Regions from separate parts of the Homo sapiens genome. Here region 2 is linked to region 1. Evidence: promoter capture Hi-C in 16 types of primary human blood cells and fetal thymus (Javierre and others, 2016). All regions are on one chromosome and are shown on one strand. Each heading gives the region's core, a stretch centred on a gene start or on the middle of the fragment in contact. The rest is flanking DNA. Distances are from core to core; before and after follow the strand shown.

Region 1 (6,487 bases), core at 1,323-3,822:
ACACTCTTCTTGTGTCTGATTAAATTCAAGCACTTTTTTCAAGTATGACTTTCAGGTTACCTACATGGTCTTCCCATAAGGAGAAGCAGTCACACAGCAGAAGGGGTTTTTTGCCTGTGTAGTAACTTGCTTAAGAAACAAGATTTTAATGTTTTATCAAATAATTCCCATGCTCTCTTTAATGGGTTTTTAATTGCCTAGAAAAACTGAGATTTAAAAGGGTTCAGGTTTTTATGTCCTGGTAACCTTCTCAATTGCCTTTAAAGTCTTTAATTATCAGTTTGGTTAAATGAGTAACTATTATTTTTACAATGAATATTATCTTGTTTTGATCAAATGTTTTGAGGCTTTTAAAATCTTTGACCAATGTCCTCAAAATCAAAATCGTAAATTAAGTCTCTGACTTATTGCTGGGGTTTATCGAAGCTATAAAAATTAATCACTGCAAGGTTGTAAAATATTTTTACAGCTTCCAGTCAGGTCATAGACTCCGGTATCACACCTCCAGCTCCTTGAAAAGGTCCTTATCAGGTGATATTAACTAATCCTTGTGCTTTTAAGTTATAGGGACTTACACATATCTCATCCAAAGAAGGCATCAACTCCTGCCAGTATCTGACACTAAACTGCAATTAACCAAAGCCTCATCGTTAGACTCAGGCAAAGGCGACAAAGTAAACTGCTTTCATGAGACACAGGGACAGTCTTGTGTTCAAAAATATTAAGATTCATTTAACAATTCTGCCTCTATCTGAATTAATATAATTTATTCTGTGCCTTGATACTAAATAATTTAAGTGTTTAGCTACCTATGAACTTCTTTTCCTGTTATTCTCAAAACTAGGCAGGGTTTATGACCTTTGTGTTTGAAATGTTGTTAATTCTTTCTGTTTTGTTTTACCTACAAAAGTTGAAACTCTTCAATCCCGCCATGCCTAGAGACTATAACGTAATGTTGTAAGGGCCAGTATTGAGAGCTAAAATTAGTTCAGACCCTACAAATCAAGGATGACACAGATGCCAAAACAGCTAAACAAAATGCTTGCATTTTGTATAGCTAATTGCAACAAGCCAAGATTACAGCAGCTCAATGCATAGAATTTATAGATAAGTCAATTTTGTAACCCTTGCCTTTTGGTTTTTGCCTCTTAACATTGCTTAAGAGGGGTTTTAAGGTTAATGAGTGCCTGCCCACCTCCTTCCCATCTGACCTAGAACGTTTAATTGGCTGTAACTCTTTTGACTCTAAGTCAGTTGGCCGCAGGAGGGACATGATGGACTCAGGGCAGGTAGCACACCACCCTGGCATTGATATGGGACAAAATTAAAGTTTGGACACTGATACTGTCTCTGGGATACCTTGACCAAAAAAAAAAAAAAAGTGGAATGCTGTTTTGAAGGCATGAGCCTAGCCATTCCCCATCTGCGAGCATTTGATTAGTAAAGCTTTCACCACAGGTCACTTCTCATGTTTTTGGCCTCTAGGCAGCAAGCAGCCAGACGTGAGCCAGTTGCAATAGCAGCATTATTGACAATAGCAAAAGGTGGAAGCAACCCAACTGTCCATCCACGGATGAATGGATAAACAAAACGTGGTATATATATATTATTCAGCCTTAAAAAGGAAGGAAATTCTAACATATGCTACTATATGGATGAAACTCGTGGACATTACACTAAGTGAAATAAGGCAGTTATATAAATACAAATGCTGTATGATTTCACTCATGTCAGGTACCCAGAATAGTCAGATTTGTAGAGACACAAAGTAGAATGGTGGCTGCCAGGAGCTGGGGATAAGGAAGAATGAGGAATTATTGTTTAATGAGTACAGAACTTCAGTACTGCAAGATGAAAGAGTTCTAGAGATGGATGCTGATGGTGGCTGTATAACAATATGAATGTACAACTGAACTGTACACTTATAAATGGCTGAGATATTAAATTTTATGTGTATTTTGCCACAATTTAAAAAAAATTAAATGAAAGTAGGCCAGGCGCGGGGGCTCACACCTGTAATCCCAGCACTTTGGGAGGCCGAGGCGGGCGGATCACTTGAGGTCAGGAGTTCGAAACCGGCCTGGCCAACATGTGAAACCCCGTTTCTACTAAAAATAGAAAAATCAGCCGGCGTGGTGGCGCATGCCTGTAATCCCAGCTACTCGAGAGGCTGAGGCAGGAGAATCGCTTGAACCCTGGAGGCAGAGGTTGCAATGAGCCAAGATCGCGCCACTGCACTCCAGCCTGGACAAGAGCAAGATTCCGTCTCAAAAAAGAAAAAAATAATGAAAATAAAAAGAAACTAACTGTGACTGAAGAACAACCCACATCAATGAAAACCAGTAGGGAAAGGAGACCTTCCCACTGCCCAGCTAATCATAGCCTGACCACCAGGCTGTGGTAACTGGAAACCAACGGCGTGGCAAGTGTAGGTCTGGGGCTCCGCGCAAGGAAGGACTGCAAGGAAGCCGCAGGTTAAAGCGGGTCAACCCGCAAAATAGGCTGCCACTGCGCAGGCGCCCATTGCGCCTACCAAGACACCTTGTAAACGTGCCCGGAAATGACGCCTGTAATGCTGAGACAGACTCCCAGAAGATCTGAGCGAGTCGCGTAGCTGAGCCCGGCAGGGGCTGGGGTGGTGCTGCTGCTATGAGCTGCACCATCGAGAAGATCCTGACAGACGCCAAGACGCTGCTGGAGAGGCTACGGGAGCACGATGCGGCCGCCGAGTCGCTGGTGGATCAGTCGGCGGCGCTGCACCGGCGGGTAGCAGCTATGCGGGAGGCGGGGACAGCGCTTCCGGACCAGGTCAGGCAGAGGGTAGGAGTCCAGTGCTCTCGGATTCTGGGCACTGAAGGGTGGAGAGCGAGGTAAAGTGGGAACTCGGCCTGGAATTTATTCCCGGTCTCAGAGGGCGGCGGTGAGACCATTTTCCTGGGTCGGGGCTGAGAATCCTGCCCTGGAGCCCTAACTTCTGCCTCTTCAGTTGCATCTGCCGCTGTTCTCTTTAAGGCATGCTTAGTCTGTCTCTATTTGTCCAGTATCAAGAGGATGCATCCGATATGAAGGACATGTCCAAATACAAACCTCACATTCTGCTGTCCCAAGAGAACACACAGATTAGAGACTTGCAACAGGAAAACAGAGGTTAGTCAGGCCTTTTCATATCTGGTAATAGTTTAAAGTTATTGCAAAATTGCCCTAAACATTTACAAAAGTGTACATATATTTCCAGGTCAGTACTTTTAGTAGGAGAGTCCTCCTGATCTGGCCCAGTAACAATAAAGTTTGTTAGATTACCCTTTTCAAGGTCATCTGACTAATATTGCAGCAGCTTACCAAAGAGGTGCTGTGTAGAGTTGGTATTATTGCATGGTTTATTTTTAAGCATCCTCAGATGTGTAACAAAAGAGTTCATAGCCTCATGGACTTAAAATTTAATGTTTAAGTATTAATATAAACACTGAAGGTAAGATTTAAGGTTTTGTTTATGTTCTTGTTTGTGCAAGGTGAAGCAGCAGAATTTTATTCTAAGGGTATATATTCTTAGGCTTGATTAGTACATTATTAATGATTGTGGTATTAATAGTTGTTTACCAGAGGGGTTTCACATATATCATTCTACTGTATTCTCATATCTTCATTTTTATCTACCACAATGCAGTTAAGAAATAGGCTCAGAAGAAGCTAAATGATTTACTTATGAGTATTAACCAAGCAAGTTACAGAACTGAACTCAAACACATGTCTTCTGATGATACATCCATTGTTGTTTCTGCAAGACTTTGCTTCTCTGCCTAGAAAGTTACCTTTCACATAGACTTTAACTGTTCAGTTTTGCGGACTTAAACATTGATTTACAACTTTAGATTCATATTATCTATATAGTGTTACAAAATTCCAACTGTTAAGACTTTGGATTTGGGAACTGTCTCTCAGACATCACTGCCAAGTTCTTTTATTTTTTGACAGAGCTATGGATTTCCTTGGAGGAACACCAGGATGCTTTGGAACTTATCATGAGCAAATATCGGAAACAGATGTTACAGTTAATGGTTGCTAAAAAAGCGGTGGATGCTGAACCAGTCCTGAAAGCTCACCAGTCTCACTCTGCAGTAAGAAACTTTGAATAAATTCGAAATGAACCAAATTGAAATCTTGAGATTGTTTTAGATTGTGTGCTTGTTTTTTTGCTTTGTGAGATAGGGTCTGGCTCTTGTCGACCAGGCCGTGGTGTAATGGCACGATCTCGGCTCACTGCAACCTCTGCCTCCTGGGCTCAAGCCATCGTCTCACCTCTGCCTCCGGAGCAGCTGGGACTACAGGTGCACACCACCACGCCCTGTTAATTTTTGTGGGGTTGTTTGTTTGTTTGTTTGTTTGTTTGTTTTTTGGTAGAGATGACATTTCGCCATGTTGCCCAGGCTGGTCTGAAACTCCTGGGCTCAAGCGATCCACCCACGTTAGCCTTCCAAAGTGCTGGGATTATAGGCATGAACCACTGCGCCTGGCCATGTGTGCTTGTTTTTGAAGAAAAGTAAGCTCATTTTCCTTTCATGTTTATCACATTTGTTGTTTATTTTGCCATGGCTTTGTAAAGATATGAATAGAAAGAAGGAGGATAGGGGCTGCTCAGATCCTTTTATTTGAGTGGGACTAAGGTTCCCCCTCCCTCACCAAGATCTCTTTTGAAAATGTTCATTAATTCTTAGCGCTCCCACCAAACATAATGCCAGTTAGTGTTGAAGCTGCCTGGTAAACACTTGGTTGGTTATTACTTATACATTTAACTTAAGCTCCTTGCTTGTAAGGCGCATGAATTCACATTTTATTCCTAACATAGTACCTGACATACAGCAGGCAGTCAGTAAACCTTTTATAAACTGAACCACATAGTATCATACTATGTTGTTAGGGGAGAGAAGTATGGTTTTTTAAAAAAACAAACATGGCATAGTTTCTGTTCTTTGCTAATTTGGGAGACTCAGTAATTGTTCTTATGTTTATAGGTGCTTCATGGTTGTCATTGTACATTCTTGTGTACTGTATCATTTAATTCTAGATGTATAGGGTTGGAGCCTACTACTTCTGTGAGATGTAGTGAAATATAAGCTTCATCTTAAATTCCATTGAATGCATTTTACTGACTTAAAAGTTTTAGGAAACAGATATTTTAAATATTTGAATGGCTTTCATCTGGAAGAGAAAAATAGATTTTCTTCTCGTATGGAGGAAAAAACTTGAACCTTGAAAGAGACAGAGTTTACTCAGATAGATAAACTTTCTAAGTGATATGTCCAAAGATGGAATAAAGCACCTTGGAATGTAGTAAGCTTCCTGCCAGTAAAAGTATTCAAATTTAAGTTAAACAGCCACTTAGAGATAGTATCCAACATCCAATGGGTAGTTAAACTACAATTGATTTTTTTTTTCCATTTCAAATCTTTTTATTGGAGTGTGGACCTACTGGGGGATTGATGCACTGGACATAGATAATTTTCAGAAATGAAAATAACATTGCTTGCATCGAATCAGATTTCACCCACAAAAATGACTAAGGCCTTACCAGAGTTGGCATTGGATGAAACCTTAGTCCTTTATGGAAAGGGAATCATGTGGCCTTCTATTTCTGAAATAGACTAAAGATTACTCATTTATTCTCTGCAATTACAGCCATCAGATCCTTTGAAATCTTGGAAGGCATGAGATGATGACATGAGTGTAACACAAATCCATATTGAAGAGCCCAGTATTTTAAAATTCCCCATGTTCACATACCAAAGGGTTACTTATGAGCTGATGCATATCACAGATAACCATATGATTATCAACTTGATGTCTGGGCAAAGAGCGAAAACAGAAAATGCATTCTACTCTTCACTTCTTGGTTTTAAATATAAGAAACATTATATATATTTTAAAAAACTGTATTCCTTAGTAGTGGTATCAATAGAACATATACAACTGGAATGAGGATCCCCTTAAGGAGGCCTTTTTTTTGTTTGTTTTTTAAATAAGTTCTAGGGTACATGTGCAAAACGTGCAGGTTTGTTAACATATGTATACATGTGCCATGATGGTGTGCTGCACCCATTAACTCGTCCTTTACATTAGGTATTCCTCCTAATGCTATCCGTCCCCACTCCCCCAACCCTATGACAGGCCCCGGTGTGTGATGTTCCCCACCCTGTGTCCAAGTGTTCTCATTGTTCAATTCCCACCTATGAGTGAGAACATGCGGTGTTTGGTTTTCTGTCTTTGTGATAGTTTGCTCAGAATGATGGTTTCCAGCTTCATCCATGTCCCTACAAAGGACATGAACTCATCCTTTTTTATGGCTGCATAGTATTCCATGGTATATATGTGCCACATTTTCTTAATCCAGTCTATCATTGATGGACATTTGGGTTGGTTCCAAGTCTTTGCTATTGTGAATAGTGCCGCAATAAACATGTGTGCATGTGTCTTTATAGTAGCATGATTTACA
Region 2 (6,487 bases), core at 1,139-3,638, 2.1 Mb after region 1:
CCGCCTTCAGTCACCACCACCTTTTACTATATTGGCCTCCTAAATTTAGTGGCTCCTTATTGCGCCTAGAACAAAATCAACACTCAACTCCTGTGCATGGCATATAAGGACCTTCATGATCCAGCCACTGCTTCCTTCTCCAGCTTCATTTTTTACCACCACCACCAACTTCCTGGGGTTTGCATAACTGTGGGCTTTTAGTAGCTCCAACTTATTCAAAATCTACTGCTGGACACGGTGGTTCACGCCTGTAATCCCAACACTTTGGGAGGCAGAGGTGAGAGGACTGCTAAGCCCAGGAGTTTAAGACCACCCTGGGCAATAGTGAGACCCCATCTCTACAAAAAAATAAAAAATTAGCTGAATGTAGTGGTGAGTGCCTGTGGGAAGCAGTTAAGCATCCAAGGAAATTAAGAGTATTGCTTATAGTAGAAAAGAATAAAGATCTCAAATCAGTGATCTGTTTCCACCTTAAGAGGCTAGAAAAAGAACAGCAAATTAAACCCAAAGTAAGTTAAGGGAAGCAAAAATAAAGATGAGCAAAATAATTAGAAAAGGCCCCTCACCAGCCTGGGCAATATAGCAAGACCTCATCTGTACAAAAAATACAAAAATTAGGTGTGATGGTACACGCCTGTAGTCTCAGCTGCTGGGGAAGCTGAAGTGGGAAAATCATTGGAGCCTGGAAAGTTGAGGCTGCAGTGAGCTGAGATCTTGCCACTGCACACTTAGGCAACAGAGACCTTGTCTCAAAAAAAAATTAAAATTAAAAAAATCTACACATCACCTTATCTTGAGAACTTCACCTGTTGTTCAGGACTGGGTATCGCACAGCCCACACATGCCCACACTACAGCAATGACCTCCGGTATTGTAACTGTCTACATTAGGAGTCAGTAGGGAGTAGGAATTAAGAACAGGGGCTCTAGAGTTCAGCTGTTTGGGTTCTAGTGTCAGACCCAGCACTAGCTCTGTAACCTCTCTGAACCTCAATTTGCTTCTCAGTAAAATGGAGATAGCTACCTCATGGGATTCTTGTAGTTAATGTATGTGGACCCAGGTCCATGTAATATGGATTCAATAAATGTTAGCTATCTTGAAATTGCATTCCTCATTTAGACTCTAAGTTGTTTGAAGGCAGAAATGGATCTTCCGAACATAGCTCTCAGTTCACCCTCGAGAAATGTTCATTGAGTCAGTTAAGAGGCCTGGGGCCAAACTGCTGCGGACCTGTTTTCACATTTGTCAAATGTCTGGATTGCACTTCAGATATTTAAAGTCTGTATGACTCCTAACATTCATTCATTCATCAAATATTTGTTGACAACCTATTATGTGCCACTCACTCTGCTAGACAACGGGGGAAGGGACAGGCTGGAGGAGCCCGTGAGGTAGCAGGGCCAGACCACCAGTTTGGAGCCAGACAGGCCCGGCTGTGTGAATTCTTGCTGTCACAAGTCAAAAACAGTTGTGTAAGCCACTTGATTTCTCTGAACCTCAGCTTCTCTATGGGCAAAAGGGGATGGGTATATTTTCCCCAGAGATCTGTGATGAATATTGAAAGGGTTAAGCTGTGTAGTGTCCCAAGCACAAGCCAATGAAATGTTGGTGGACGTCCTCATTCTACTCCCACCTCCTCAGCTCCCTTACAGGGAAAGGAGATACGCGTGTAGGTAAATATCCTATGCGCCAAGTCAGACCTAGGAGTGGGAACAGAATTCACAGCTGGGATCCAGAAGCATTTCTAGGCGCACCCTTTGAGGAGTAGGTAGGAATTGGACTCCTGGAAATTCCAGGCCCAGGGAAGAAAGCGAATTGTGAGGAGGAACGGTGGTCTGGGTCTGAACGGCTCTGAGAGGTCTTCAAGTTTGGGGGATGACGTTGGGCTGTACGATCCTAGGAACAAGAGGGTGGACATCTCCCCCCAACCAACACACCCGCGCCGGGCCCTGGGACCTCCCGGCGGATACCCTTTCCCAGTCCCGCTTCCCGCGAGGTCCCAGGTGCAGCAGGAGCGGGTGGCCGCTTGGCCACAGGAGGGCAGCAGCGGCCCTTCCTGACCCCACCCCGAGCACCTCTTAACTTTCCCGACGCCGGTCCTCCCCTAGGGGATTGAAGGCTGGGCAGAGTCTGAGTCCACCCGGGTCGTGCTCCCCCCGCTCGCCCGGCTCCTCCGCAGTCCAGGAATCTCCCCGTGGCTCTCCCCGACCTGGAGGGGTGGACGCCCCTGGCCCCCAGTCCCCGGCCTGCGGAGGGGGCCGGTGGCTGCGGCCCTGCGCGGGGCCGGGGCGGGCCGAGCCAAGGGCCGCCCCCGGCCGACCCTCCCCCTGCCGGGCCCGCCCTCCCCGCCGCGGCGCTGGAGGAGGGCGGGGCGGGGCCCTGGGGTCAGTCTGAGCCTCCGGCACCGGCCGCGCAGCTGGAGGCGGCGGAGCGGAAGGTACCCTGGGCCGGGGCTGCGGGCGGTGGGGCGTCTTGGGAACTCGTCCCCAGGAGAGCACTTTCCCTTCCTCGCTGGCCCGGAGATCGGGGCCCGTGCGAGGAGGGGCTTCGGCCTGGGCGTGGACCCCGTTCCCTCCAAGCGGAGTCGGCATCCGGGCTGGGCGGTGGTCGGACCGCGTCGGCCCCTCCCCGGGCTGCAGCGAGGGGGCCCGGACCTGCCGGCAGGGGCTCTGGCCTCCTGAGGTCCGAGTCGGAGCCCCTTCCCTTCTCCTCCCAGCTTCCCGGAACCTGCCCCGCCGGGCGAGGGGCGAGGGAACTTCAACTCAGACGCCCCAGCCCCCAGGGTGGGCGGCCGCAGGGGACCTAGAGTGGGATGGGGTGGGAATTCCTCCAGGCCAGGAGGGAGGTATGGCGGGAATAGGGGCGGGATGTGACCATTGGGGCCTGCCACTGCTCGGCAGGGTCTGGACGCCGCCCTGGACGGTTCCTGGAGCCCGCTTGTGTTGAGGATAAGGGAGATGGGGAAGGATCCAACTCTGTGTGTGTGTGTGTGTGTGTGTGTGTGTGTGTGTGTGTGTGTGTGTGTGTGTGTGTGTGTGTGTGTGTGTGTGGTGTGTGTGTGTGTGTGTGTGTGTGTGTGTGTGTAGAGAGAGAGAGAGAGAGAGAAAATGAGATTGAGAATCCTCCTTCTTCATACTCGAACCAAGAAAGAGTATCCTGGGGTTTGGGACTGGGATCCCGAGGCCGAGTCCCGCCCTCACTCTGGTTTTAAAGTTGAGAATGCAGTATCTCTTGGTATCTCCAGAACGGATTCCTTCCCTAGGTGTAGGGTGGGCCGGCAAAGTCAACCGGCCGCTCTGGATCATCTGGGAATTCAAGAGAGCGATTGGAGAGAGGTCTGATGTAGCCACACTGTCTTGTCTTGGGGAAGGCCCCAGAAGTTCCAGGCTCCATTCCAGGCCCTGTGTGGGGCTCAGTTGCCCCTCTTAAGGGGTCAGTGGGACAGTCCCTCTGGGGCTGCCTCTCACAGGGAGTTGTCCATGCCATCTTGGCCTTGGGCCTAGTGTCCTGGCCTGGGCTGCCTGCTGTTCTGGCCCAATCATAGCCTGGAGGGAAAGTCTTCTAATTGGGCTGGAGGCTCCAGGTCCCTTAACGCATGCCTCAACCCCGGGTTTCTGTCCTCTGCCTCCCACCACTCTGGTGCCGTCTGAATTACCCTGCTGGGGGGACAGCAGTGGCATACTCATGCCTAAGTGACTGGCTTTCACCCCAGTAGTGATTGCCCTCCATCAACACTGCCCACCCCAGGTTGGGGCTACCCCAGCCCATCTTTACAAAACAGGGCAAGGTGAACTAATGGAGTGGGTGGAGGAGTTGGAAGAAATCCCAGCGTCAGTCACCGGGATAGAATTCCCAAGGAACCCTCTTTTTGGAGGATGGTTTCCATTTCTGGAGGCGATCTGCCGACAGGGTGAATGCCTTCTTGCTTGTCTTCTGGGGAATCAGAGAGAGTCCGTTTTGTGGTGGGAAGAGTGTGGCTGTGTACTTTGAACTCCTGTAAATTCTCTGACTCATGTCCACAAAACCAACAGTTTTGTGAATGTGTCTGGAGGCAAGGGAAGGGCCACTCAGGATCTATGTTGAAGGGAAGAGGCCTGGGGCTGGAGTATTCGCTTCCTAAAGGGCAGTGTGAGGTGGTGGTGGGGTGTGGGGAGTAGAGGCGTTCAGTCAGCCCAGTTTGACAGGATGTGGGACTGAGAGAAAAAGCTAGGTTTGAGGCTGAGATCAGGTTACCGTCGCTTTCTTAACTGCTCCCTGCCTGGTTGGTGCTGGGACTGGCCCTCATTTGTCTCTTCTTTTGGGGCTCCTCCCAGCCCAGACTCTAGCCCCCTCCCCCTTCCCAACAGCCTTGACTTCATCTCAGCTCCAGAGCCCGCCCTCTCTTCCTGCAGCCTGGGAACTTCAGCCGGCTGGAGGTCAGTTCCCCTCCCCAGGGAAGGAGGAAGTGAGGGAAGCTGCGAAGGTGTGATGAACTGTGCAGATGCTCGCTGTGTGTGCTGGGGGTGGGGGACACATGGAAGCCCGGGAAGCTGACTCCTTGCCCTGAGTCACAGGGAGGGGTGGGCAGGGCATGCGGGTGAGCTGGACTGAGGGAGGAAGGGGCTGTTCCAGAGTGGGTGGAGGTGATTCCCTGGTGGATTCTTCTCAGTCACTGTGCTGTGGTAGATGTGTGGCTCCCTACAGTGTGGTCATTGTCCCCTGCCGGGGGCTGAGTGACCCAGTGTTGCTGGCAGGCCTAGGAGGAAGGGGGGAGGAAGGCAGCCTGCCCAAACTCGAGCTGTGGGCATTGCTGGGACTGAGCCTCCTTTGTATTACTTGGGGCTTTGGGGACCGGGTGGGGTGGACCAGGGAAGCTGGCTGGCTGCTACCCCTGTCCTCTGTCTGGGTTTCCCTGCTTCTGCTCTCCCTCCTGCCCCTGAGGTGACATGTCGAAGAGGCACGACTTTGAGTCACACAGTCCTGCTTTGGGTGCTGTCCCTGCCCCTTATAAGCCACAGCTCTGAATCTGTCTTAACCTCACTGAGCCTTAGTTTCCTGGTTTGTCAAAATGGAAAGTGCACCATCTACCTTCCAGGCATCTGGGTACCGAAGGAGATAATTCCTGCCAAAATGCCCGACAGAGTGCCTGGCACCTAGGGGCTCTATAACTATTCTTCCTTTACCCACCTACCACCTGGTAGCTGGTTCTGCTACTCTGGTCCTAGAGAGGGACTCCTCATTTGTGACTGGACAGGTATGACTTGTGCTGAGGGACAGTCTGTTCTAGATTGGACCTTAGAGATTATTAAACTGTAAATGCATCAAAATCCTGGTAACCAATGAAGTCTGACTCGAAACCCTGATGTGTGAAGTAGATAGAAGCTTGCTCCCTGGACGTCCCGCATCCCTGAGCAGCTCTCTAGCTACCTGGAGTCCCCAGGTTGGCAAGTGGATTAGATTGAAACTCATGTTTTCCAGCTCCCAAGTGGGGTCATCATCTACCTCCCACCACTGTATTCTAACCCATCGAGGGAGACCTGTCCCTGACCCAGAGATTAGGAATTTCAAGCTCTGTTGTCGCACAATTGGTGTTTTGCCAGAACATGCCTGAGCAAGCCCCCTGTCCCTTTGCTAGATGCCTCGGTTTCCAGGGAGGTTTGGGGGCCCTAGAGAAGTGTTTTTGGACTTAATGGCTTTTCCTCAAATCCCCAATACGTCTTTCCTGGCAGCCCCACCATGGCTGCAATCCGAAAGAAGCTGGTGATCGTTGGGGATGGTGCCTGTGGGAAGACCTGCCTCCTCATCGTCTTCAGCAAGGATCAGTTTCCGGAGGTCTACGTCCCTACTGTCTTTGAGAACTATATTGCGGACATTGAGGTGGACGGCAAGCAGGTGAAGGCAGAAATGCCCTTCCCACCCCACCCTGAGACCCCGCCCCCCAGTCACTGAATGACCTAGTATGTCCTTCCCCATTCCTACCCCTGTCTTTGCTTCATTCTCCCTGCTGGAACCAGTAAAAGTTAGGAAGTAAATCTGCAGTCTTAAAAAACCTGGATATACTTTCTGGTTCTCCCACAGACTGGCTCTGTAACCTGGGCCGAGTCCCTTTGCCTCTGGGTTTAAGCTCCCCCACCTGCAAAATGGGGATGATGGTAAGACCTCCCTCAAAGGGTTGTTGTGAGAATTAACCAAAATAATGGTGCTCACAGTGGCAACTCAAGGGTCAAACACGTCTTAGATTTCTTTAACAAACTGACCTAATTTATGTTGTGGGACAGTGATTAATATAATGCCTGGTGCATAGCAGGTGCTCAAATAAAGAAGTTCAGTGAGCCCGAAGGACAGTGGTTTCAGGGGACCTTTGGGTGGCAGGGTTGGGGCCCTCAGGCCAGCTACTCACTGGCCCTGTGTGTCAGGTGGAGCTGGCTCTGTGGGACACAGCAGGGCAGGAAGACTATGATCGACTGCGGCCTCTCTCCTACCCGGACACTGATGTCATCCTCATGTG

What was found. The method cuts DNA at HindIII sites, captures the fragments that hold promoters and counts their contacts. A CHiCAGO score of 5 or more calls a contact.
Region 2: a contact is called between the fragment with the promoter of RHOC here and the fragment with the promoter of SIKE1 in region 1, in 1 of 17 cell types (total CD8 T cells). The highest score is 5.4, in total CD8 T cells.

Annotation. Positions count from the first base shown.
Region 1 is chr1:114,776,770-114,783,256 of GRCh38, reverse strand. It overlaps SIKE1 (suppressor of IKBKE 1), which reads left to right and starts at 2,572. Exons shown (of 5, transcript NM_025073.3): 1 at 2,572-2,808; 2 at 3,042-3,147; 3 at 3,973-4,115. The coding sequence starts at 2,650. RefSeq lists enhancers at 2,190-2,309, 2,550-2,789, 2,254-2,819, 2,820-3,386. The HindIII fragment of the contact is 3,666 bases long and covers 1,449-5,114 here.
Region 2 is chr1:112,703,028-112,709,514 of GRCh38, reverse strand. RHOC (ras homolog family member C) reads left to right here and starts at 2,388. Exons shown (of 6, transcript NM_175744.5): 1 at 2,388-2,437; 2 at 4,347-4,415; 3 at 5,709-5,871; 4 at 6,396-6,487. The coding sequence starts at 5,716. RefSeq lists a silencer at 1,949-2,668 and enhancers at 3,928-3,977, 4,725-5,279. The HindIII fragment of the contact is 12,151 bases long and covers 1-5,363 here.